2 separate regions of the Homo sapiens genome follow, and region 2 is linked to region 1. The links are contacts of gene promoters, found by promoter capture Hi-C in human tissues and cell types (Jung and others, 2019). All regions are on one chromosome and are shown on one strand. The core of a region is centred on a gene start or on the middle of the fragment in contact, and the rest is flanking DNA. Distances in the headings are between cores, read along the strand shown.

Region 1 (5,370 bases), core at 2,069-4,568:
TCGGCCTGGCTCTGCGGCGTCCATCCCAGGCCCAGGCTTTGGTGGGGGTGAGGCTCTCTGCCCAGTTCCCATCCTGGTCCAGGTGCTGGAAGCACGCCTCGGTCACTGGGGTCAGCACCCATCAGGCTGCTTCCTGGGCTAGGGGACAGACACCAGGCTGACCGGGTGGCCGAGGCTGCCAGTGCCAGGCCATGCCTTGAGCAGCCATCCCGGCGGGCAGGAGCCACCGGTTGCAGGGATTGTCTGCGGCAGTTCCTGCCCGGGCGTCCTTCCTCCGCCGCGGCCTGTGCTGGCCCGGGCTGAGTGTTTGTTATTTGATCTCGATCCTCTCAGCCCTTCTACCAGGTGTCTGGGCTGCTGGGAAGAAACACTCTCCTCTTTCCCACGCTCCCGACACATTTTAATGAATTAGCTGGAAGCCCCGCCCCCACTGCCCGCCACCCTCCCTCCCTGCTTAGCGCCTTTAAGGTGGCCGCAGGCCTCGGCCCAGCTCTGGCCAGCTGCCCCTTCTGCGCTGTCCTCCCTGGGCCCTCCCAGGCGGGCCGGCCACCCCGCACAGACCTCCCTCCCCATGTTGCCCACTGCTCTGAGCCTCCAGGGAAGGAAGGAAAGGGGGTGCATGCAAAGAGAAGGGGCCCCACCATTGCCTTCTGGGGGCAGGTGGGTTACAGGCAGGGCACCCCCGGGGCCAGCATCCTCAGGACAGGCAGGGGAGGAAGGACAGGGCCCAGCTGCACAGTCGGAGCTGAGCCTGTTGCCAGGTCCCAGGGCAGGGCCTCCCAGACAGCAGAAGGCTCCAAGCAACACCGGCAAACACCAGGGGGTCCTCTCGAGCACAAGTACTGGGTGGCTGGAGGTGGACCCCCGTGTCCCAGCATTTGGAACAGATGTCCACCTTTTGGATGTCCCTCAGCAAACATTCGGGAAGTGCTGACTCAGAGCTGTTGCCCCCCCGGCCCCTCCCCCCTTCCCATCCTCAAATGGAGCAGCTTCAGGGCCGTGGGTGTGCCCAGGGGAGCTGGGAGCCACGGTGGAGGAGCAGGAGCCAGGGCCACTCAGCGAACTCCCTGTGGGCAGTGTGGTGTGGCCAGCCTCTGAGTCCCACAGATGAGCCTGGGTACCTGCCTTGGGCCACAGCCACACTGCCGTGGCAGGCCCCACCACCTCTGCCTGACCCCGCTCTGGACCCCGGGCAGGGGGTAGGTTCCCGCCCTGCAGGGCCGCCACACCAGCCTCACTGTGCCTGCCGGGGCGCCCGCACCGCCTGGCCCTCGCCAGGGGCCGCTGCCGATTTCACGCCCGTGGCGGGGCCCCGCGTTCCCACACCGAGCTCACACAGGGCCCCTTTGTTTGCCGCCGCCACGGATGCCGACGGCACTTTCTCCCAGGCCCTGCTCCTGGCCCACAGCATAGCCAAATGCCTTCTCCAGGCCCGGCTTGAGCCCACCTGGGCTTCGGCCTGTTTGCAAACCACCCACCCTCCAGGGGAGGCCCTGTGCCTGTTGAGCACCAAGGGCTCTGCCCACCCCCCAGTCATGCCCTCTGCCTCTTGCCAGTCTAGCCTGGCTGGGCCCTGGGCATATGCACAAAATCCATCAATGCCCAGGACAGAGCTCCTGCCCTCCTGACAGTGAGCTCAGAGCACCCTGCACACCCAGCCCTGGTCTGAGGTCCAGAGACACAGCCAGCACCAGGGACCAGCAGGCAGCCCAGCGGCTCCCCCTCCTTAAGAGGCCAAAGGTGCCCAGCAGAGCACGGCAGGCCAGGCCATGCCATCCCTGCCCCGGGCCTGGGCTCCACAGCGCCCATCTCTGTTCTGCTGGGGGCCTACTCCGGGACTCCACTGTGTCCTCACCTGCATATTGGGGAGCACCCCTCCACCCTCCGTGGCCCCCTTGAGAGCTCCTGGGAGAAGCAGTGAGGCCCAAAGGAGAGAGCTGAACAGAACCAGCGGGATCACGGCCCCAGGAAGACCAGAGCGAGCTCTGAGCTGTGCCTTTGAGGGACAGAGGTTCCCAGCCCACCAGGAGGACCCCAGGGCCTCAGGACCCTGCTCCGGTCAGCCAGGGTCTGTCCCGAAGGGAGCCTGCCCAGTTTTTCCTGCCAGTATGGGCACAGCATGGGGTGGGGACACACCCCTGTGGGGAGCCGGATGTGGGGACATGGAGCTGGTGGGCGGAAGCCTCCTCAGACAAGGCCTGGCATGGGGGTCTCCCCAGCCCGAGCTCAGAGCTGCCTGCGCGGAATTCCCGGCTTGGCTTCAGAAGGAATTCAAGCCCCAGCCTGCCTGGCCTCCTGCTCCGCGCCTGAGAATCACTCCTCCTTAATTTCCAACGACCACAGCGAGTTGTAAACTGTAAAACTCTAATGAGGAAATGCGCTGTGCTTCCCCTGCTAGTGCCTCCCGGTCAATTGTTAGAGTGGTCAATAAAAATGGGTTTTACAGTTTGGAAGCCAGGCGTTTCAGAATTCCCTTCTGGCCCTGGCGCCACACCTAGCCCTGCTCACCTGGGCAGGACCTATGTGTCCCGCATGCTGGTGCGTGGGCAGCAGAGGGAGGCAGGCCGCGGTCCCGACCCTCCCGCTGCGCCCCGGCCCGGGGCTTCCTCCCGAGAGGACAGCGGAACCCCCTTCACCGCCAGGCGATAGAAGCCGCGGTGGCCGGCCGGAGGCCCCTCGCATCAGTACGGTTGGGGCACACATAGGCTGAGCCGGCGGCCATGAGGCTGCCCGCGCGCGGGAAGGACCCGCGTGGCTGAAGGCCCCACGTCAGGGCCTGGAGTTGCCACCCGCGTGGACGGTGAGCCCGGAGGCGCGGGCTGGCCGGGGTCGCCGCGCGCCTCTCCGCTCAGAGGGGTCTCTCCTTCGCCACGGGCCTGAGATGCCCGCGAACCCCCTGCCCGGGAGAGGCCGCCCTCGGGGCCACCTGGCGGTCGCGCTCGGGTACCGGGCAAGGCCTGGGTCTGGCTGCTGAGGGAGCTTGGAATTCCCCGGGTGGCCGGAGGGAGAAGGGGCGGGACGACCGCAAAGAGACGCGGAGCGCCCGGGGGGCGCGCGGACGGCGGCGGCGACGGAGCTGGACCCCCCCGGCGGCCACCTGGCCTCCCCCGCCCAGGCGCTGCCGGCGACCAGCGCCCCCTGCCGCGAAGCGCGCCGCCGCCGGGACCCGCCCCCGGACCCCTGCGCACGGCACCGCCCACGCCCCGCCCCCATGTGGGCGCGGCCCAATCCCGGGGCCGCCGGCGCGCGCGTCACGGGCTGCCATTGTTATGCAAATATAAAGAAGGTAAAAGGCGCCCCGGCGCGGCGGGCGAGCTAGTGCTGCGGCGCGTGGGGAGGCGCCTTGGGACCGCGTGGGAGCCGCAGCCGAACCGAGTAGGGACCGGGACCGCGCGGCGCCGCCGTCCCCGGCCGGGCCCGGCCCCCGCGAGCCGAGCGCGCGCCCCCGTCGCCCACCCGGGCGCGGCTGGATGCGGCGGGGTCCCCGCGGCGGCGACCCCCGGCCCCGAGCGCCCGGAGCGCCCAGAGGCGGCGTGCGGGGCCCGGGGACGCCGCGCCCTCCATGCGCCGAGGCGCGCCCCGAGACAGCCGGGGGCCCGCGCCGCAGCCGCCGCCCGCGCTGAGCCCCGGCCCGGCCCGCGGCCCGCGCCCGGCGGCAGCATGAGCCAGGCCGAGCTGTCCACCTGCTCCGCGCCGCAGACGCAGCGCATCTTCCAGGAGGCTGTGCGCAAGGGCAACACGCAGGAGCTGCAGTCGCTGCTGCAGAACATGACCAACTGCGAGTTCAACGTGAACTCGTTCGGGCCCGAGGGCCAGACGGCGCTGCACCAGTCGGTCATCGACGGCAACCTGGAGCTCGTGAAGCTGCTGGTCAAGTTCGGCGCCGACATCCGCCTGGCCAACCGCGACGGCTGGAGCGCGCTGCACATCGCCGCGTTCGGTGGCCACCAGGACATCGTGCTCTATCTCATCACCAAGGCGAAGTACGCGGCCAGCGGCCGGTGATGCCCGCCGGGACCCCGGACCCCGGCCCTGCGCCCGCGTCGTCTCTGCTGTACCTTCCCGCCAACTACCTCGGTGCGCGCCCGGCTCGCAGGCCCCGCCAGAAGGCCCGTGGCCACGGCGAATACGGCGCGTGCGTCCCGGCCCCAGGGTCCGGCAGCCCCGCCGGCCGAGCGCCTCCCTGCGGCCTAGCCGGGCCCGGCCGGGCCGGAGCAGCTTCCCACGGCCCCCACCCGCTCGCCTGCCCGCCGCCTCGCGGGTGGGGGCGGGGCGCGGGCTCCAGCCCCTTTTGAAATTTGAGTCTCGCAACCAGCAAGTTCGGAATCCCGAGATACCGGATCCTCTGCGCAAAATGTTTTCTCCCGAAGGTGAAAGGCGGGCGGCGGGAGCCGAAGGCGGACTCGGAGCGCTCCGCCGCCGCCTTCAGGACCCGCCCGCAGGCCCGGGACGCGCCGATGCCGGCTGCAGCCGAGGAGCAGCCCCGAGGTCCGAGGTCCGCGCCGCTGGCGCGCGGCCGAGGAGACGCTCGGCTGTTCGCTGTTGCTGGTGTTCTAAACTATTTATCTTGTGTGTGTACATTTGTGGGTGGAGTTTGTGCGCCTGGTTTTTTTGTTTGGAAAACACTGCGTGGTCAATGTGGTTATGGGGGGGAGTGATGCATTTTTTTCTAGTCTTAAAACTAAAAACTTGAGTCTACCATTTCTTGGTTGCACTGAAAATACCGCCCAGCCTGATGGTGTTCCCGTGCTGTCCCTCCCCCTTCCCTTCTCCCCGCGTCTACCTCCCCACCCCGTTCTGTTCCCCCTCCCTCCTTCTCCCTCTCCCTCAAATCCGTGAGTTTTGGAAGCCCCAGGGCCTCTCTCCCCCGCCCCTCCTGGATGAGGCCACCATCCCCCAAACCGGCTTGTTTTGCAGTTTCCCCAGGATCCTGGAAGCTCGCTGGCGCTCGAGGGTGGCGGGGACACGGGGGGGTGGGTGAAGGTTCGTTACCTTTTCTAGTGCGTTCTATCATAGTTAACGGTTGCACACTTTTTTAAAAAAAGTAAATGGATTTGCCACAATTAAATGTCATAACATTTATGACAGAATATAAAATATTAACATATTTTAAGCCAAGTTTTAGGTGTATTTTTTGAATCTTGGTTATAAACCCAATTTTAAAGGGCGATGTATCCAGCGTTGTGAAGGCAACAGAGTGTACCCATATTTATATTTTTATAAAATACCTATAAGACTGTGAATCTCTTGTGCTAATGGCTGAGTTAATTGAAGGATCGTTTTGCCCCTTTTTAGCCTCCCAGAGCTTCGAGGACTCAATTCGAACCCGAAATCCTGCCGTGGGGGAGGGGTTGCGTCGAGACCTGGGCC
Region 2 (5,370 bases), core at 1,952-4,451, 65 kb before region 1:
GATATTTCATGTCGAGGGCAGCGGCTGGCCCTGGGCAGGATGAATGCCTGCTTTTGTCCGCTGAGTTATTTTATTTACATTTTTTAAACAGCTTATCAAGGTAAAAAGATAGCTTTGCTTTAAAAAAAAAAAAAAAAAAAAGGCCCTCTTGGCTCCAGGCCCACGCAGAGGTGGGAGGCAGGGCTGTCGCTGGGGTCCTCGGCCTTCGAGCCTGGGCACCTGCCCAGCCTTCCTGCCCCTTAGAATGGGGGGCCCAGGGGAGCCGGGGAATGCCCTTCCCGATGGTCGATACCACAGCCCCTCCTGATTTTCTTTTTTTTTTTTTTTTCCTGAAAGCAGCAGCTCCTGGGCCTGTCTAGAGGTTTCTACAGCCCCACCCCGACCCCGCCAGCTGGACAGCCTCGTCTCTCTCTTCCTGGTGGATGCCTCCCATCCTCTGGCAGCAGAGGTCGGGAAGGTCTGCCTGGTGCAGAGGGGCCCAGTTTGCCCCATCTGTCCTCATGGCCCAGCCCCGGGCTCGTTCCTCCCACGGGGTCCAGGACTCTTCACCTTCTGCTGTCTGCTCCCTGGGCCTGGCTCTGGGGCCAGGTGACCTTTTTGTGCCTGCTGAGTTTCCCAAGTGGCCAGGCATGGACAGTGGGCAGCTGTACACCGTCCTCTCAGGGAAGTTCAGACAGAAATGACCAGACGCTGATTCTAAGCCAGGCACCACCACAGTGAAAGGGCCAGCAGGGCCCCCAAAGCCTGAGACAGGGGTCAGGCCAGGGAGCTTCCTGGAAGGGGTGGGTCTGCTACTAGCCACCCCCCAGCCCCCCACCCCTGTCACCAGGGCTGCCCATGAGCAAGCCTGGGCTCTGCCCTTACCAGGGTGGAGCTAGGGGAGCTCCATCCTCGTCCTGTCCCCCAAGCTGCGAGGCCACAGAGCCCCCACTGGGCTCCGGGTACAAAATGTGGACACAGATGCTGGGGGCCCCAGGACGCCTGCATGTCCAGAAAGCCCACCTGGCCTCAAGAGGCCCCGGGTGCCCAGAGAGCTTCTGTGGGCCTAGAAAGAAAGGTCCAGACACCTGTTAGCCCTGGGCTCTGAATGGCCGTGGTGAAGAGAAGGGCTGAGCTGGGCACTTTGAACTGCCTCTGACGGGGTCGCAGCGTGCGGGACACAGAGGCAGAAGCCACCCACCTGGGGAGCACGGCCAGTACCCAGCCCCACCCAGGCTCCTCTGCAAGCCTGAGGCGGCCTTCTTGGGCTCAGAGGGGTTCCTGGTTGGGTGGGGCCCGCCGAGGGCTGGGACTGGAGCCTGAAGTCTGTCCCTCGGAGGGAGGCTGGGGACAGCAGCGGTGAGGGAAGGCCCTGGCCACCTGCCCCTTGCTGTGTCCCCAGCCTCCCTGGTCCCAGCGTCACCTGCTCAGGGCCTGGTCCCAAGGAGGTGCCGGGCGCAGCCCCATCCTCCACTTCCCTGCACCTGACAATAACCACATGCGGCAGGAGGAGCAGAGGGCGGGCGGGTTGTGACCACCCTGCGGTTCTGAACGGGGTGAGGTGTCCGGCCCTGCACCCCTGCCTTCCGGAGCTCTGGCAGCTTCTCAGGGGGTCCCTGATCCAGAAGGGATCAGAGCCCTTGTGTGAAGCTGCGGGTGTCACTGCTGGGGTGGTCCCCATGTGGTGGCCCCTGCGCCCATGCTCACAGCCGTAAGCCCACCTCCCAGGCCCTGCGCCCCTCCCCATGTGGTGGCCCCGTGCCCCTCCCCGGCCCTGCGCCCCTTCCCACGGCCCTGAGGCCCCGCCCCGGCCCTGCGCCCCTCCCCACGACTCCGAGACTCCCACGCCCCGGGCCCTGCGCCCCTCCCCACGGCCCTGAGACCCCCTCCCCGGGTCCTGCGTCCCTTCCCCTGACCCTGCGCCCCTCCCCACACGGCTCTGAGAAGCCCCCCCACCCCGCCCCGGGCACTGCACCCCGTCCCCCGGCCCTGTGCCCCTCCTCACGGGCCTGAGACTCCCTTCCCGGGCCAGGCGCCCCTGCCCACAGCCCTGGGGCCCCGCCCCGGACCTTCGCCCCTCCCCACGGCCCTGAGACCCCCGCCCCGGGCCCTGCGCCCCATGGGCCTGGTGGAGGCCTAGCCTCTTGGACCCTGGCCAGACAGTAGAGGCGCCGGGTCAGCGCTGCGCAGGGAAAGGCCCCCGGCCCTGCGCCCCCACCCTGCGCACCGGGGCTGGAAGCCGGCTCGAGGCTTTCCCAGGCCGCTATTTTGGTCCTTTCTCTGGGCTGCGCGGGGGCGGGGCGCCGATGCTCCGCGGGCTGCTCTCGTGGGTCATTTTTGCTGGCTATGGGAGCGCGGCTTATGGAAATTATTAATAGCAGCTCAGGCCCGTGGTACGTGCAGGCGGTCAGGGCCCGGCCGTGCCCCGATCGCAGCCAGTGTGGCCTTGGAGCGCTCGCGGGGTGCCCGTCTCCGCCTCGTGGGAAGGGCTAGGACCCCCCAGGCCTCAGGATGCGCTGAGGCTGGGGGTCCTCAGCCTTGGCCCGTCCACTGCAGGCACCATTGTGTTCTGGGGCCCGCAGATGGGTCGTGTGGGAGGTCACGGCTTTGCGCCTTGCCTTGACCCCACCTCCTAGCCTTCCTCTGGCTCATCAGCAATCCCCGAGCAAGGCCCTGGGACCCAGGCTGTGTGGCCAGCCACCCCCTTGAGTCCCTGCTGCCCCATCCAGGCCAAGCCCAGGCCTCCCACCTGTCCCAGCCTATGCAAGGCCTGGCTCAGCACGGGGGGGCTTGTCTGCCAGGCCAGGCCCCTCGGCCTGAGGGCCACGTGGCTGAACACGGGAAGGCCCTGCACTCCGGCCTCAGTGACCAGGTGCTGGTGCAAAAGGGTGGTAGCCCCCTCACCCGCCGTGCTGCCTGGCCCCTCCCAGGCCCTGAGTAATCTGCCGCCTTTGTGTTTGCCAGGCAGCCACGCTGGGCGCGACGTTGAAGCTGCAGTCGGAGCTTGGCGTTGAAAAGGTGAACGTCTTTCTCATGTAAATTGTTTAGGTTCAAACTTGGATAACGCCCAGGTCTCTATAAACAGTGTTTGTTGGAGGTCGGGAGTCCACCAAGCCACAGTGGGGGACAGCAGGGCCATCGGGGGCCGGCGAGGGCCTCCAGAGCCCCCTAAACCACCATCCTCCTCATGGGCTGACCCCAAATCAGACGCAGCCGCACGTACACGAACCCCGTGTCCAGCTGTCCCCTGAAGCCCTGAGTGTGCTCCGTGCAGCAGCTGGGGCCACCCCTTCCCTGGAGTGGGCACCAGCTGCCTCGAGGACACGCAGCCCATGTGCTTCTGGGACCCTCCTCTGCTGCACGCCTCCACCGTGCAGTGGGCTGGGGGAAGCAGTCACCTAACTGTGAATTTCCGGACAGATGACACAGTCCTCGAACCCACAGTGTCTGCAGGGATGGCAGATCCAAGCTTCTACAATGGGACTTCGTGCACATCACAGGGACACAAGGGGAACCTGCTGGTTAAGCAGGGGCAGGGTGGGGGAGTGAGCACCCCTCGGGCAGAGCCAGGTGGGGACGGGACGCATCCTGGTCTCCCTAAAGAGGGAGGGGTGTCTACACAGCCTGCAGGGCTGTGCTCCGGGCGATGGGTGCAGACTCCAGGTCTACAAGAGCTGGGGCCAGAGAGGGCTCTTGGGGCTTCGCGTTCTGCCCGAGGACTGTCCCCCAAGGCACTGCTGGGCAGGTGGGCCCCATGCAGTCGGCGCCAGGCAGCCTCACCTGTGGGGCAGAGGAGGTGGGGGAAGGGAGGTGAGGAGTCTTCTTCGAGGGGCGTTGTCTACGGGAATTCGTTCTTGCTGAGGGAATGGCTGGTGTGCCCCAAGGCCCAGCGCCACAGCCAGGGACTCCCTCAGGGCCTCTTGGAGGCACCGACAGCGTGTGGGTCTTGCAGACCTGCTCGGGAGGCAGTGCTGGTACCATGTGCCACGAGAAGGCATTTCCGGACTACCAGGGCTACTGCCAGTGGTTTGTCTTGGTCCTGCCTCCCCACATTTGGTGACAAATGAGCTTCCCCAGGGTCCCCCTTGCCTCTTAGGGCCTCCAGGCCTTCATCATGGAGATGGGGATGGCCACAGAGCCCAGCAGGAGCCTTGGGCGAGTGTGTGTGAGCGTGAGCACTGGCCGGGCGAGCACTGCTGGGCCTGGACGGCCTCTGGGCCCCTTTCGTTCTGACACTTTGGCCGCTCCCTCTGGGTTGGAGGTGAGTCAGGTTTTGGCTGAGGTGGCGGAGGCTGTGGCCTGACCGTGTGTCCCCCTGCAGATGAGCATCCCACTGCTCCTCCAGGACAAGGTGGCCCTCGTGGAGCGCTATGTGGCCGGCTTCCCGGACCTCCAGAGGAGGCTGCTGGTCCTCATGGATTCCTGGTGCCAGCCCGGCTTTGACATCAAGGACGTTGCCAGGTGAGTCCCGTGGGGCGCTGGCAGCTGGCACCAGATGGCATCCTGGGAGCCCTGGTTAGGGAAGGGAGTGTAGGGGGGCAGCAGGCGCGTGGGAGAGCTCTCCCCAGGAAGTTCTGGTGTTTGGGTCACAGCTGCCATGTGACTGCAGCTGGAGCAGCTGCCTCTGGAGAGGAGCGGCTGGGGCTGGCAGGAGCACAGCCCTCTTCTCCCGAGTGAAAAGAGTTAACTGCTCTTAGAAGAACGAAAATAATTCTCCGTGGTGGCTCTTCTCATGCAGGCATGGCAACCGTACTGCTTTCTTGTTCATCCATTCCTTTGTTCTTTCATCTAATAAAGTTTTTGGAAGCACTTGGTGTGTGACGTCTGTCAGCAATTACAGAGAAAAGGCAGCACCTGACAAGGAGCCCATATGGTGCCTGTATGGATTCAGGGAAGCCATGTGCATGTGTGTGCATGTGTGTGCATGTATGTGTGTGCCCATGTGCATGTGTGCCTGCAGGTGTGCATGTGTGTGTCTCTGTGTGTGCACGTGATATGTGCGTGTGTGCACGTTTGTGTGTGCCTGTAGGTGTGCATGTGTGTGCATGTATGTGTGTGCCTGCAGGTGTGTGTGTGTGCATGTATATCTGTGTGTGCATTGTGTTCGTTTGTGCAGGTGTGTATGTCTGCGTGCATATGATGTGTACATGTGTGTGCCTGCAGGTGTACGTGTGTTTTCGTGCATGTGGTGTGTGTGTGCATGTATGTGTGTGCCTGTAGGTGTGTGTTTGTATGTGTGTGTGCATGGGTGTGTACGTGTGTGCATGTGTGCCTGTGCATGTGTGTGCGTGTGGTGTGTGTACATGTATGTGTGTGCACGTGTGTGTGCCTGCAGGTGTGCGTGTGTGTGCATGTGTGTGCGTGTGTACCTGTGTGTGCACTGTGTTCATG

What was found. The method cuts DNA at HindIII sites, captures the fragments that hold promoters and counts their contacts. A contact is called where the count stands out against the background at its distance.
Region 2: a fragment that was not itself captured here is called in contact with the fragment with the promoter of NRARP in region 1 in 3 of the 25 tissues and cell types used here (dorsolateral prefrontal cortex, pancreas and spleen).

Annotation. Positions count from the first base shown.
Region 1 is chr9:137,300,219-137,305,588 of GRCh38, reverse strand. It overlaps NRARP (NOTCH regulated ankyrin repeat protein), which reads left to right and starts at 3,318. Exons shown (of 1, transcript NM_001004354.3): 1 at 3,318-5,370. The coding sequence starts at 3,661. The coding sequence ends at 4,005. RefSeq lists silencers at 2,759-3,398, 4,081-4,160, 4,231-4,290, 4,411-4,460 and an enhancer at 3,101-4,019. The HindIII fragment of the contact is 30,312 bases long and covers 1-5,370 here.
Region 2 is chr9:137,365,563-137,370,932 of GRCh38, reverse strand. It overlaps EXD3 (exonuclease 3'-5' domain containing 3), which reads left to right. Exons shown (of 22, transcript NM_017820.5): 6 at 2,944-2,997; 7 at 4,301-4,440. Among named protein-coding and RNA genes, the nearest start is that of EXD3, 55 kb to the left of the region's middle. RefSeq lists silencers at 519-708, 1,190-1,390 and an enhancer at 2,094-2,695. The HindIII fragment of the contact is 6,555 bases long and covers 1-5,370 here.